5 separate regions of the Homo sapiens genome follow, and regions 2, 3, 4 and 5 are each linked to region 1. The links are contacts of gene promoters, found by promoter capture Hi-C in blood cells and fetal thymus (Javierre and others, 2016). All regions are on one chromosome and are shown on one strand. Each heading gives the region's core, a stretch centred on a gene start or on the middle of the fragment in contact. The rest is flanking DNA. Distances are from core to core; before and after follow the strand shown.

Evidence for each region. The method cuts DNA at HindIII sites, captures the fragments that hold promoters and counts their contacts. A CHiCAGO score of 5 or more calls a contact.
Region 2: a contact is called between a fragment that was not itself captured here and the fragment with the promoter of MIS18BP1 in region 1, in 2 of 17 cell types (neutrophils and monocytes). The highest score is 6.5, in neutrophils.
Region 3: a contact is called between a fragment that was not itself captured here and the fragment with the promoter of MIS18BP1 in region 1, in 1 of 17 cell types (monocytes). The highest score is 6.3, in monocytes.
Region 4: a fragment that was not itself captured here is called in contact with the fragment with the promoter of MIS18BP1 in region 1 in 4 of 17 cell types (total B cells, activated CD4 T cells, monocytes and 1 more); the score reaches 5.5 in total B cells.
Region 5: a contact is called between a fragment that was not itself captured here and the fragment with the promoter of MIS18BP1 in region 1, in 4 of 17 cell types (monocytes, neutrophils, total CD4 T cells and 1 more). The highest score is 10.0, in monocytes.

Annotation. Positions count from the first base shown.
Region 1 is chr14:45,251,808-45,254,505 of GRCh38, forward strand. It overlaps MIS18BP1 (MIS18 binding protein 1), which reads right to left and starts at 1,395. Exons shown (of 17, transcript NM_018353.5): 1 at 1,228-1,395. LOC107984674 (a long non-coding RNA gene) reads left to right here and starts at 1,484. Exons shown (of 4, transcript XR_001750746.2): 1 at 1,484-1,834. RefSeq lists enhancers at 1,364-1,423, 1,524-1,703, 1,613-2,562, 1,724-1,913, 1,984-2,043. The HindIII fragment of the contact is 13,340 bases long and covers 1-2,698 here.
Region 2 is chr14:45,001,338-45,004,035 of GRCh38, forward strand. All of the region lies in intron 3 of TOGARAM1 (TOG array regulator of axonemal microtubules 1), which reads left to right. Among named protein-coding and RNA genes, the nearest start is that of TOGARAM1, 40 kb to the left of the region's middle. The HindIII fragment of the contact is 2,578 bases long and covers 86-2,663 here.
Region 3 is chr14:45,024,296-45,026,993 of GRCh38, forward strand. TOGARAM1 (TOG array regulator of axonemal microtubules 1) reads left to right here. Exons shown (of 20, transcript NM_001308120.2): 8 at 1,488-1,577. Among named protein-coding and RNA genes, the nearest start is that of PRPF39-DT, 58 kb to the right of the region's middle. The HindIII fragment of the contact is 3,823 bases long and covers 1-2,698 here.
Region 4 is chr14:45,050,725-45,053,422 of GRCh38, forward strand. TOGARAM1 (TOG array regulator of axonemal microtubules 1) reads left to right here. Exons shown (of 20, transcript NM_001308120.2): 15 at 1,712-1,838. Among named protein-coding and RNA genes, the nearest start is that of PRPF39-DT, 32 kb to the right of the region's middle. The HindIII fragment of the contact is 1,138 bases long and covers 743-1,880 here.
Region 5 is chr14:45,067,927-45,070,624 of GRCh38, forward strand. It overlaps TOGARAM1 (TOG array regulator of axonemal microtubules 1), which reads left to right. Exons shown (of 20, transcript NM_001308120.2): 18 at 498-717. Among named protein-coding and RNA genes, the nearest start is that of PRPF39-DT, 15 kb to the right of the region's middle. The HindIII fragment of the contact is 4,259 bases long and covers 1-2,698 here.

The sequences.
Region 1 (2,698 bases), core at 145-2,644:
AGATGCAAACTAAAACAGTGAGATTTCTTTTTCATATCACATTGGTAAATATTAATTTCAAAATGCAAGTATGCATACTATTGACACGGAAATTCCACTTCTAACTTGTTTTTTCCTATAGAAACATCTGCGTAAGAATGCAAATATATATGTACCATAATTGCCGATATTTACTGAATATTTACATGCCAGCCACTATATAATCTAACAGCAACTCTAAAGAGTTAAGTACTGTTATTACTCCCAATTTGAAAAAAGAGAAATTAAGGTATAAGGTGGTTAAGTAAGCTGCCCAAGGTCACTTGACAATAAGTGAGAAAGAGGAACCGATTCTACCCGACTCCATAGCTTCAGTTATTTACCAACAGGCAACAGTCTACACACCCACTACACAGGGAAGTTCACTGCAGCATAAAATGAAATGAAACAACCCAGATGTCTACCAATAAAGGACAAAATAAATCCCGCCACATCCATACAATTTACTCTATGTATTCAATAAAAAGATATATATGTACTTATATGGAAAAGTATCCAAGAAACATTAAATTGAAAAAGAAAGTAACAACATAGAATTGCATTTGTTTAAAAAAATTTTTAAGTAAATAAATAAAACACATACAGGCATAGAGAAAAACTCTGGAAGCGGTGAACCAAATTGTAAACAGTGTTTATCTTTGAAGGCCAGGATGAAGTGGCCTACCATTTTCTTGAACTCCTGAGCTCAAAAGATCCACCCGCCTCGGCCTCCCAAAGTGTGGGATCACAGGCGTGTGCCACCGCGCCCGACCATTTTCTAAATAATTTTATTAACATCTAAAGATGTTTGCAACAAGCATGCAATTTAACCAGAAGAAAACATAAGCTGAATGATCAACTGCTTCTATAGCCCTGTGGGTCCTGGGGTCCCAAGGGGAAGAGTTGGGTACTGAGGAATACAATTTTCCCACTTGGTATTCTAAAAAAAAAAAAAAAAAATTTATTTTAGAACAAAGACCTAGAACGCTCACCATCGAAATAAATTTGAGCAATCGTGTTCTACTCTCTTAAGTACAGTAGACACGCAACAAGTAAACATCGAGTGCGAAGTATAAAATCCGTACCAAAGCCAGAAATCTACAAAAAAAATAAATAAAACCGCGTGAGCCGAGATGCTTAAAGGGCAGACGCCCACCATCTGCGGGGACCCGCGGTAGGAGGTTAGCGGAGGGCGCGGGGAGGACGTACCTTGGATGAAGAGCCTGGCAGGGAGAGACTGCCGCAGTTCCGGCTCGGCTCCGCGCGGAGAGAGGGCCGCACGCCGCCGGGCTCGCGCCTCAGGCCCACGGTGTATCCTGCCCGCGGCGGCCAGGCGCCAAGCGACGCTTACCTCCTCCGCGACGTTCTCTAACACACAAAACACTTCCGCAATTCAAATTTGAAGAGCCCGCCCTCCAGCCAGCCCGGGATTGGCACGCTCGGGAATTGCGCCACCGTGCGTCTCACAGGGACGCAAGAAAACTGCAGGCGGCCTCTGCACTCCGTGGACGGCAGTGTGTCCACAAAAAGTAGGCGACCCTAAGCTGTCACAGGCAGGGGGCGAGCTCCTCTAGTTGTCTTCAAAGTTCGTTTCGTCTTCGTAGGGCACGCGCCCACCCTGAATCCCGCCTTTCCTCTCGTGAAGCTCTGCCGGGACAAGGCTGACGTGGGACGACGTGGGACGCCGTGGGCCGCGAGCACGCCCCGGCACTACTGCGGCTAAGTTTGGCCTTTCCTGGTTGCCGTCCTCCCCTACAGGCTGTGCGCCGTAGCGGCTGTTATCCTTCTTTTCCGTCTCAGGAAAACAGCGTGCTTGGTGGGTTTGAGAGAACTTCTGTTTTTCTGTCCTCCATGTTTGAGGCGGAGAAAGAACATTTTGTTCTTGAGGTGATGATGGATTGAATGTAAAGTTACGCACAAAGTGGGATGTTTAGTTGGAACTGTTCCCTCAGGAAATACGATTTTTTGGGCGTGGGGGACAGGGTTTCGCTCTGTCGCCTAGGCCTGAGTGCAGTGGCGCAATAACGGCTCACTGCAGTCTGGAACTCCAAGGGATCTTCCCACCTCAGCCTCCGAGTAGCTGGAACTACAGGCGCGCGCGACCATGCTTGGCTTATTTTTATTTTGTAGAGAGGAGGTCTCACCATGTTGCCCAGCCTAGTCTGGAACTCCTGGGTTCAAGCGATCCTCCATCTCGGCCTCCCAAAGTGCCAGGATTACAGGCAACCGCACCGAGCCAGGAAGTGATTAATTTTTTTTTAAGTCACTTCACATTCCAGAAACATTAATCTCGACAACTCTAGGTTGCTGTAAGCAGCTTGTGACGGTGGCCCCCAGACTGCGTCCCGCTTTAGACTGCACCCAGTGAATCTCCACTCTAACCACCGCGGAGTGACCGGGTGTATTCTTCGCCTTGTATAGGGCACATTGGTTCAGTCTTGAAAGTAGAGAAGGGGAAGCCAGGGTAGTAAGGTGTGTTCTCAGCCCTGAACCCTGTCCAACTCCAGTCCTGCATGAAGTCTGTCCTCTTCCCCCCATCCGCATTTGTGACAACAGAGCTTCTTTTTATTTTATACTTCCATCTAAGAAAATTAGTCAACTTCTAGTCACATACCACATTTCCCCATTAAGAGGCTTTACTGAAAAGGTGGTAATTTTTTTTTAAAGTGACTTTTGCAGT
Region 2 (2,698 bases), core at 125-2,624, 250 kb before region 1:
TCTGGGCAAAGATTTCTTGAGTAAGACCTCAAAAGCACAGGTGACCAAAGCAAAAATGAACAAATGGGATCACATTTAGCTAAAAAGCTTCTGCATGGCAAAGGAAACAGTCAACAAAGTGAAGATACAGCTTACAGAATGGGAGAAAATATTTGCAAACGATTCCACTGTTGAGGGATCAATAACCAGAATATATAAGGAACTCAAACAATTCAATAGCAAAAAAACAAAAATACAATGTGAAAATGGGCAAAAGATCTGAGTAGGCATTTCTCAAAGAAGACATATACATGTCTAATAGGTATATGAAAAGCTCAACATCACTAATCATCAGAAAGATGAGCATTTTAATACCAAGTCATTGAAAATAACATTATCCATTAAAGAGTGTTGTGTTAGCAGATGACAATTATTTTCCGTAACAGTTTTAAATTTTAAGACAATTTAGAATGTATTATGTCTCTTATTAGGAACCGTAACTTCCTAAAAGCTACCCTTTCAGATAAGACATAAGATACAGAAGAGGAAAGATTGGAGACCGGTTATCAGTCAGGAATTTGGGGGTTGAAGGTGTTCTTAAATGTCCATGCTAATTAACAGCTTTAACAATTATTAGATAGAGGTAGGATCAAATTAAGTATTTCTTTAGGTATTTTAAATTTTATTGTATGTCCTTTACTAAAATTTGAGTGATAGGGATATACTTATTTATTTATGAAAAAATAATGATTTGAAATTAGTAGAGAAGATTTCGTGTATTTAGCACTAACATTTTAACTACCCTTTTTTGCACTCACCCCAAAGACCCACATAACTCCTTAAAGATATCCTTTGTGGTATTATCTGCATCACAAAATAATCCATCTTTCTTAATAATGTGGGTATTTCCTAAATTTTGACTCCTGAGTATCTTTGGGACTCATAATTGGTATAATCAGAGAGAGCTTGCTGTGCCACTTAACCTGTTCCTGTTTAGGCTATCCCTGAATAATTACATTGCCTTTGAGGACTATCCACTCTTAGTGTTTAGTCATATTGCACAGTGGCTCTCTGGTTTTCTATTGGAATAGTTATTAGAGAAGCTGGTATAAAGGGATACCACGTTTTTCTAGAATTTAACTTAATACTTGGTTATACATTAAAACCACTACCATCTCAATTAATATTCCCCTTGTGATCTTTGAAGGACCTATGGTATGGATGCAAAACAATATAGATGTTTGCATCCCAATTTACATATTGTAGTGATCCACACCAGGTGTTGGAAATTTTGGTGTATGTTGCATTGCATTGTTTTTATGTATATGCATAGTATGATAGGATGTTTGATTTCTTCATAAGAAATATTTTTAAATCTCGGCTGTGTGCGGTGGCTCACGCCTGTAATCCTAGTGCTTTGGGAGGCCAAGGTGGGTGGATCATGAGGTCAAGAGATTGAGACCATCCTGGCTAACACGGTGAAACCCCGTCTCTACTAAAAATTACAAAAAAACTAGCCGGACATGGTGGCGGGCACCTATCATCCCAGCTACTCGGGAGGCTGAAGCAGGAGAATGGTGTGAACCCGGGAGGCAGAGCTTGCAGTGAGCTGAGATCGTGCCACTGCACTCCAGCCTGGGCGACAGAGCGAGACTCCATCTCAAAAAAAAATAGAAAGGAAATATTTTTAAATCTCTAGGAATATATGAGACATTGTCATGAAAGCATCAGAACCTGTTAATAGAGCACTGTAATTGAAATGAGGAAACTGAAAGTTTTAATTCTATATGTAAATCTGTGACTAAATCTCCTATATCTCTCTACCTAGATAAGATTTTGGTATAAGTAGAGATTTTAACCATGTCAGATATGAATTAAAAAAATAAAGGATATATAATATATACAGTTGTTTAAGTCCTCAGAAGAATGTTTGCTTTATTAATATACGTACGCTAGGTATTTTGTCACGGAAAACATTTTTTAAAATATTAAAGGAAAACTTAAGGGAACCCCTAAAAGATTACAAATAGACTTTTTATATTCGTTGAAGAATAAAAAGATCAATAAAAGGCAAGGAAGAAGTAATAAAGAAAAAAATAATAAATAGTACAAAATAAGATGGTAGAATTAAAATCAAATGTATGAATAGTTTCCGTAAGTATAAATTGGCAGAACTTACAACTTAAATGACAGAGGTGATCAGATCTTGTTTTTTTAGTTTTTCATTGAAGTGATCTTTTTAAGAGCATTACCTAAAATACATCAAGATAGGTTGAGAGAAAGTAAAGCATGGAAAAGATACACTAGGCAAATGTTCAGAGAAAAGCAAATAGAAACATGTTGATGATAGGGAAAATATGCACACCAAAACTAAAAACATTTTTAGTTCTAGAGAGGATCATTGTAATGAGAAAAAGAATAATTCACTAAAGAAACAAGACTTCTCTGACATGTGTGTATATGTATACATATACATGCATGTATGTATGTAATTGATAAAATTACAAGGAGAAAGTTAATTTATAAATGTTAGTACAATATTTTAATGGGATAAAGAAGTTTTGAATTAGAAGATACAGAATATTTGAATAACACAAATTAAATTAGTCCTTTACCTCATACCATACAAAAATATACATGCCAATTGGGATGAAAACCTGAATGGGAAAAGCAAAAAGCAAAAAAGCTTTTAACTGTTAAACTGTGTATACATAAATAA
Region 3 (2,698 bases), core at 52-2,551, 230 kb before region 1:
ACTCTTTTGATATTTGAATTAGATGGAAGTATTATAACAAAGAAAAAATATATAATGATATTTGTGTGTGAAGAAGCCTTTAAACATATTTTCTATATATTTTAGAATTGAGACTTAATGAACAATATTTCTTTCAACATTTCTTTAAGAAAAATATAGTGTAAAACATAAAAATATATTAAAAATGATTAATGACAGCTTCTCTTATAAATGAAGTTAAACTCATTGGAGATAACATGTCTTTTATATTTTTTTGATGAGATTTGTCTGATCATTCGTCTCTTGATAGTTTATGTATAGATTTTATGTTTATGTGGACTGTTGAGCAAATTATTCCATTTACTGAGATTTTTTTCTCTTTGTCACAGAACACGTTTTTGGGCTAACCCGTGTTTCTGTTAGTTGATGTGTGTACTAATTTTGATTGCATACTAAAGAAGAAATACATGAAAAATGATCACTTACATGGATTTCTTTCTTTAATCTTTGCCATTTTCACATAAAGCCAGGTTACTATTAGCATTAGCAGTTGACAAAACAATCTATCTGCTGCTTAATTTTTAAAAATCAATTATTTGATTGACTTTATCACTGTTTAACTGCTTTTCTTTCATAAAACCTAAAGCAATACATATTTCTCTTTTCTTTTTTTGCCTTGATACATTCATCTAACATATATTTATGGAATACCTGGTATGTGCCAAACACTATATTAGGCTCTGGGAAAGAATAATCATCAAAACTAGACATAGATCCTATCCCCATGGAACTTACAGTCTAGTAGGATTGTAAATAAAGAATCAGAAACTAAGATAAAAGTTAACCTAGAAAAGCACAGATTGCTGTGACATTGACCTGATCTGTTTTCTGATGTCAGAGGATTTTCTTTTTGATGACCCTTTTGTTGCCTGATTATCATGCTGTGATAAGTCGCTTGTATGCCTCTCACACCTCACCCTGACATGTAAACTCCTTAAGGAAAGGAAGGGGCCAGGCATGGTGGCTCATGCCTGTAATACCAGCACTTTGGGAGGCCGAGGCAGGCGGATCATGAGGTCAGGAGGTCGAGATCAGCCTGACCAAAATGGTGAAACCCCATCTCTACTAAAAATACAAAAATGAGCTGAGCATGGTGGTGCGTACCTGTAATCCCAGCTACTCAGGAGGCTGAGGCAGGAGAATCGCTTGAACCCAGGAGGTGGAGGTAGCAGTGAGCCAAGATCACACCACTGCATTCCAGCCTGGGCGACAGAGCGAGACTCCATCTCAAAAAAAAAAAAAAAAGGAAAGGAAGGTTTAAGTGCCTAGTCCATTCTAGTATTGCAGTTACAAACATTTATAATGACTTAATGAACGTGTGAATAAATTGTAAATTCTTTGTATGAAATAAATTTTCAGTTTTAAAAGACTATGTTACAATATCCTAAGATACTACATAATAAGCAAATATGTTTAAGTATTTGTTTTGTTTTTTGGGGGATTTACAGGGTCATCATCAAATCCACAGCAAATTTCCAGTTTTGACTTCACAACCACAAAGGCTTTATCAGAAGACTCAGTAGTAGTTGTTGGAAAAGGTATTTCAAAGTTATTTCGCTTCTTAATTATATGTATTCATCATATAGAAGCAAAGCCTATCAATAAGGAATAGAAAAGAATGTGATTCAAGTGTTGAGTGGAACTTCTTTTTAAAAATGTATTACATTATCTTCATTAAAATAATTAGAAGTGAATACTTACCTTCACATTTCTATCTTCTAATGAAACTATAGTAAATTCATGTCATTAATTTTCAGAGAGATGTATTATGTGACAGCTGCAGTTTAGGTACTTCTAAGACTATTTTAGGATAGCTTACTTAGTTTTAGCATAGTTTAAATTCAAGTAGCCCTTATTTATCAGCGTAATAATCAATATAAATTAATATAATTATCTCCCATACAAGATCTAGACAAGTGAAAATTAAACTCCTGTTATATATTTTAAGGGGGCTAAGGGACCTTGAACAAAATTATTGCAAGTATCCTTTAAAGCTATTTTCTATTTTAATTGAAAACTAGAATGTGGTAATATACATTGAGGGTATGCATCTTATTTTTGTTCAATATAATGAAATAGAATAAACGTTTTGAAAAATTTGTCCTAACTTCTTTGCTTGATAGTCTCATTAGGTTATTTTAAAACCCTCCTCAGATTGGCTACAGCTTACTCTTGTAAACTTATTTTCTGTTATTCCTTTATTTGCCCGGCCAAGCTCATTTATTCGCTCCACATAAATGCTTTAGAAACTTTCAACTCTGCATGTAAACATCCCCATCTCATAGATTTCCCCCTCTCCTTCTTTACTTTATACAGATCCTTCCTGTCTTCAAATCCCAGCTCAAATCCTTGCTCCTTGAAACCATCTTAAACACCCAGCTCTGCCAGGTGCAGTGGCTCACTCCTGTAATCCCATTCTTTGGGAGGCCCAGGCGGGCAGATCACTTGAACTCAAGAGTTCAAGACCAGCCTGGACAACATGGCAAAACCCCATCTCTACCAAAAAAAAAAAAAATACAAAAAATTGGGCAGGCCTGGTGCTGTGCGTCTGTAGTCCTAGCTACGCAGGAGGCTGAGGTGGGAAAATTGCTTCAGCTTGGGAGGTGGAGGTTGCAATGAGCCGAGATTGTGCCATTGCACTCCAGCCTGGGTGACAGAG
Region 4 (2,698 bases), core at 62-2,561, 200 kb before region 1:
ATGCCTCAGCCTCCTGAGTTGCTGGGATTACAGGCATGTGCCACCATGCCTGGCTGATTTTTGTATTTTTAGTAGACACTGGGTTTCACCATGTTGGCCAGGCTAGTCTCTAACTCCTGGCCTCAGGTGATCCACCTGCCTTGGCCTCCCAAAGTGCTGGGATTACAGGTGTGAGCCACCACGCCCAGCCTCTTCTCTGGTTCTTTTTGTGCCATATATTCCAAGTTGTGAGTAAAAGTGTAACTGTGATTTATTTTAGGGCCCGGCCTCATTGAAGATGAATAGTGTGGTACTATTTTGAAGTAGTATAAGACATCTGTGTGCTAAAATATCTCCAGTATGCACTTCCATGATATCTGAATTTCCACCATTAGAATCATTGGGCTTAAAGTATTATGCTAAGATGATTATTTTATAATTCATATAAATAAGAAAACCTAGTTTTTGAGATTATTACCTGTATTAACATATCAGTCACAATTTTATCAACTAACCTTGGGTGTATTTTAGGTAGTAAAGAATAGGATTCTGAAGAATCAGAACCCTGGTAAGTTTTGGCTAGGGAAAAACAGAGAATGAGAAATACAGGACCTAGGGAGGGTTGACTCAGGCCAGAACATCTGGCCCTTAGGTGGACAGCAAATGGTCAATGGGCAAGGAGCCCAGGATGGAGGAAAACTTCACAATTCTCCCAAATGCCAGCATTGATATGGACCTTGGGGTGCCTGAAAAATAGAATCAAAGCTTTTGTCTCTCCATCTGGCACATGGCAGAAGGATTTGAAGACAGTGACTTTAAAGGGGGATTATGGGAGCATCCCAACAGATGCTTTTTTTTTTTTTTTTTTTTTTTTGAGACGCAGTCTCACTCTGTTGCCCAGGCTGGAGTGCAATGGTGTGATCTCGGCTCACTGCAACCTCCACCTCCTGGATTCAAATGATTTTCCTGCCTCAGTCTCCTGAATAACTGGGATTACCTGAGCACGCCAACACATCTGGCTAATTTTTGTATTTTTTTAGGAGAGACGGGGTTTCATCATGTTGGCCAGGCTGATCTCGAACTCCTGACCTTGTGATCCACCTGCCTTGGCCTCCCAAAGTGCTGGGATTACAGGCGTGAGCCACTGTACCTGGCCACAGATGCTTCTTAACTTACAATGAGGTTATATCCCAATAAACCCATCATGAATAGGAATTATCATAAGCCAAAAGTGCATTTAAACACCTAACCTACCAAACATCATAATGTAGCCAAGCCTTACCTTAAACATGCTGAGAACACTTACATTAGCCTACGCTTAGACAGAATCATCTGGCAACACAGTACATTGTAGAGTATGGTGATCATATGGCTGAGTGGGAGCTGTGGCTCGCTGCTGCTGCCCAGCATCTTAAAAGAGTGTCATACTGCATATGACTAGCCATGGAAAAAGTCAAAATTCAAAGTATGGTTTCCACAGAATCATATCTCTTTCACACTATTATAAAGTTGAAAAATTATAAGTCAAACCGTTGTAAGTCGGAGACCATCTGTACCCTCTAGGGTATCCTATACAGTTAGGATATCTATATTTTCATGGTTATTTAATATAGGGATGGTAATCTTGATGTTTGATAGGTGTTTTTTTTCTATTGAAACAATGCATCTAAGGTCAGCAACTGAGCTTATTAATGTCTAAAAAGTAATATACCTGTTTTTCAAATACTCACAGGTATTATGGTCGAAAGATGCTGTTCTTCATGATGTGTCATCCTAACTTTGAAAAAATGCTTGAAAAGTATGTCCCATCTAAAGATTTGCCATATATTAAGGACTCTGTTAGAAACTTACAGCAAAAGGTATGTGGGAAAAGTTTGTTTTATAAACAGCTTTATAAGCAAAGCTTGTTTTTACATCCAGGTAAAGGATAGGAATAATTATTTATTTGATTATTTCTCTGTTAATCATTTGGACTATTGGACTATATCTGCAATAGCATTTCAACAATTACAATACTAAGTAGACATACATATTGTCAAGCCTTGGAAGTAAATGTTTATTGCACAGAAGCTTGATGTTTGGTAGAATATAGTTTGGCTTATTGGAGTTAACAAGACATGGGTTTGAATTGCAGCTCTAACAGTTAGCAACTGTGTAACTTACACATGCCTCTTCATTTCTCTAACTAGAATTCTCACTTTATAAAATGAGGATAATAATGTTTACCATGTTTAGTCCCTGCTTTATTTACCTTGCATGTCCCACTATTAGAGCTATTACCACACTGCAGAACATTTTTAGGGAGCTCCTTGAGGGTAAGTGCAATGTCTTTTTTTTTTTTTTTTTTTTCTTTTGAGACAGAGTCTTGCTGTGCCACTAGGCTAGAGTGCAGTGGTGTGATCTCGGCTCACTACAACCTCCACCTCTTGGGTTCAAGCGATTCTCCTGCCTCAGCCTCTCGAGTAGCTGGGATTACAGGTGCCCACCACCACGCCCAACTAATTTTTTGTATTTTTTAGTAGAGACGGGGTTTCACCATGTTGGCCAGGCTTGTCTTGAACTCCTGACCTCAGGTGATCCGCCTGACTCGGCCTCCCAAAGTGCTGGGATTACAGGCGAGAGCCAATGCGCCCAGCCATGCCATGTCTTATTTGTCCTGGTAGATAATGGGAATTCAGTAATGTCTGATAAATGAGTGACTGAGAGAATACCAAGTGAA
Region 5 (2,698 bases), core at 77-2,576, 180 kb before region 1:
AAGAGATAATAATACAAATTTAACTCTGAAATTGCATCTAAAATTTTCATAATAAACCTAAACTGAAACTAGGTTAAATCTCCACAGTAAAACTTACAAGTCTACTTCTAGTGTGAAAAGAGATAAAAACAGAAACTTTTCTAAGTTCTTAGAGTTAGCTAAGCTAACCTCCATCTTCCAGAAAACAAGATGTTTATCATATTTACAGTCAGTCAGTCAGTCATCTGCCTACTGAGCCACATTTTTCAGCCTTTATTAGGATGTCTTTTGGGGTGATTTTTGAGGCCTTCTCTTTTTGTTACAAGAAGATTTGACACTTAGATTTAGTACCCAAATTTTTATAAAGTTCCTGTTATCCAAGTTCAGGCAAAATAGGATGTTGTGTATATATTTAAACTGAGTAAAGTAGGAGAAATATTATGACATGCCAAGATACTTATAAATACAATAGCTATAAAAATCATTTTACTTTAAATAATTTACCAATTTATTTTCAGATTTTTGATGCTTTTAAATCTCGACTTCATGATTCTAATAGTAAAGTAAATCTGGTGGCTCTGGAAACAATGCACAAAATGATTCCTCTACTTAGAGACCACTTATCTCCTATAATCAACATGCTAATTCCAGCAATAGTGGATAACAATCTGAATTCCAAGAATCCAGGCATCTATGCGGCTGCTACAAATGTTGTTCAGGCACTGAGTCAGCATGTAGGTAAGAAATCTTACTTCGGCACTCAAATTATTTTCACTTTCTTTTCATGTTTTCTGATTCCATCCATACTTTTTTTGTAATGCTGAAATCCTAGTTATTCAGTTTTTTAAACTTAATATTATCATAAAACTTTCTATTCTCAATGGTTTTAAAATTATTTTTAGTGATTAAATTCTGTCCCATTAAATTGACTTTCTTTTCCCTTATCTGTGACTTTTATTTCTTTTTCTGCCTCAACCTCACATCTGCTAACAAAACTAACTCAATACTTCGGCATGAGATGATCCAGAAATAAAATAAAGAAAAAAATATAAAAATAAGAAAATAATAATAAATAAACTAACTCAAAATGGATCGTAGAGTTAAATGTACAACTTAAATGTAAAACTTTTAGAAGATAACATGAGAAAATCTTAGGACTTGGTGAAAAGTTTTACATATGGCACTAAAAGCATGATCCTATAATCTCAGCCCTTTGGGGTTGATCTGCCAAGGTGGGCAGATCACCTGAGGTTGGGAGTTCAAGACCATCCTGGCTAATATAGTGAAACCCCATCTCTACTATAAATACAAAAATTAGCTGGGTGTGGTGGTGCGTGCCTGTAATCCCAGCTACCCTGGAAGCTGAGGCAGGAGAATCGCTTGAACCCAGGAGGTGGAGGTTGCAGTGAGCCAAGATTGTACCACTGCACTGCAGCCTGGGCAGCAGAGTGAGACTCTGTATCAAAAAATTTTAAAAAATTAAAAAAAAATAGATAAAGGGACAAGCTACAGACTGGGAAAAATATTTTCAAACCGCATATTTGACAAAGAACTCATACCTAGAATATGTAAAGAAATCTCAAAGCTCAACATAAAAAAAAACTCAAATAAAAAAATAGACAAAAGACCTGAAAAAATATTTAAACCATGAGGCTATACGGATGGCAAATAAGGGAGGATGTGTGACTGGTCAAATAAGCAAGTGAAAAGATGTTCAACATCACTAGCCATCCGGGAAATGCATATGCAAGTTAAGGCCATGATCACCACACAAGTATTAGAACATCCAAAATAAAAAATAGTGACAATACAAAATGCTGACAAGATTACAGAGAAACTACATCTCATACACAGCTGGTGAGAATGTAAATAAAATGGTACAGCCACTCTAGGTTTGGCAGTTTCTTTAAAATCTAAATATACCATGGAATACTACTTAATAAAAAAGAACAAAATATTAGGAACATGAAACAAATTTGTATAAAAAGATTATTCGGCCAGGCACAGTGGCTCACACCTGTAATTGCAGCACTTTGGGAGGCCGAGGCAGGCAGATCACGAGGTCAGGAGATCGAGACCATCCTGGCTAACATGGTGAAACCCCGTCTCTACTAAAAATACAAAAAATTAGCCGGGCGTGGTGGCAGGTGCCTGTAGTCCCAGCTACTTGGGAGGCTGAGGCAGGAGAATGGCATGAACCCGGGAGGTGGAGCTTGCAGTGAACCAAGATCACGCCACTGCACTTCAGCCTGGATGACAGAGTGAGACTCCATCTCAAAAAAAAGAAAAAAAAGATTATCCGTCATGTCCACGTGGAATTTATCCCAGGGATGCAAGGATGGTTCAACATATGCAAATGGATGGTTCTTAAGTATTTTTCATCAGGTTTACTATAATACCATAAAACTTGAGTGACACCATCAGACCTATATGAAGTGCCACTAGTGATGCTGGAAGTGCTCCCAATAAGCAGGGGAAAGTCATGACATGATAAATTTGAATTGCTTGATATCTGAGTAGCTTGAGGTCTGCAGCTGTGGTTGCTCACCATTTCAGACAGATGACTAATCTTGTAAACAGATGACATAAATTTGCATTATTGACAAATACAATACTGTAAATTTATTTTTCTTCTCTCTCCTAATATTTTCTTTTCTCTAGCTTACTTTTTTGTAAGAATACAGTATATAATACATATAACATCCAAAATATGTGTTCA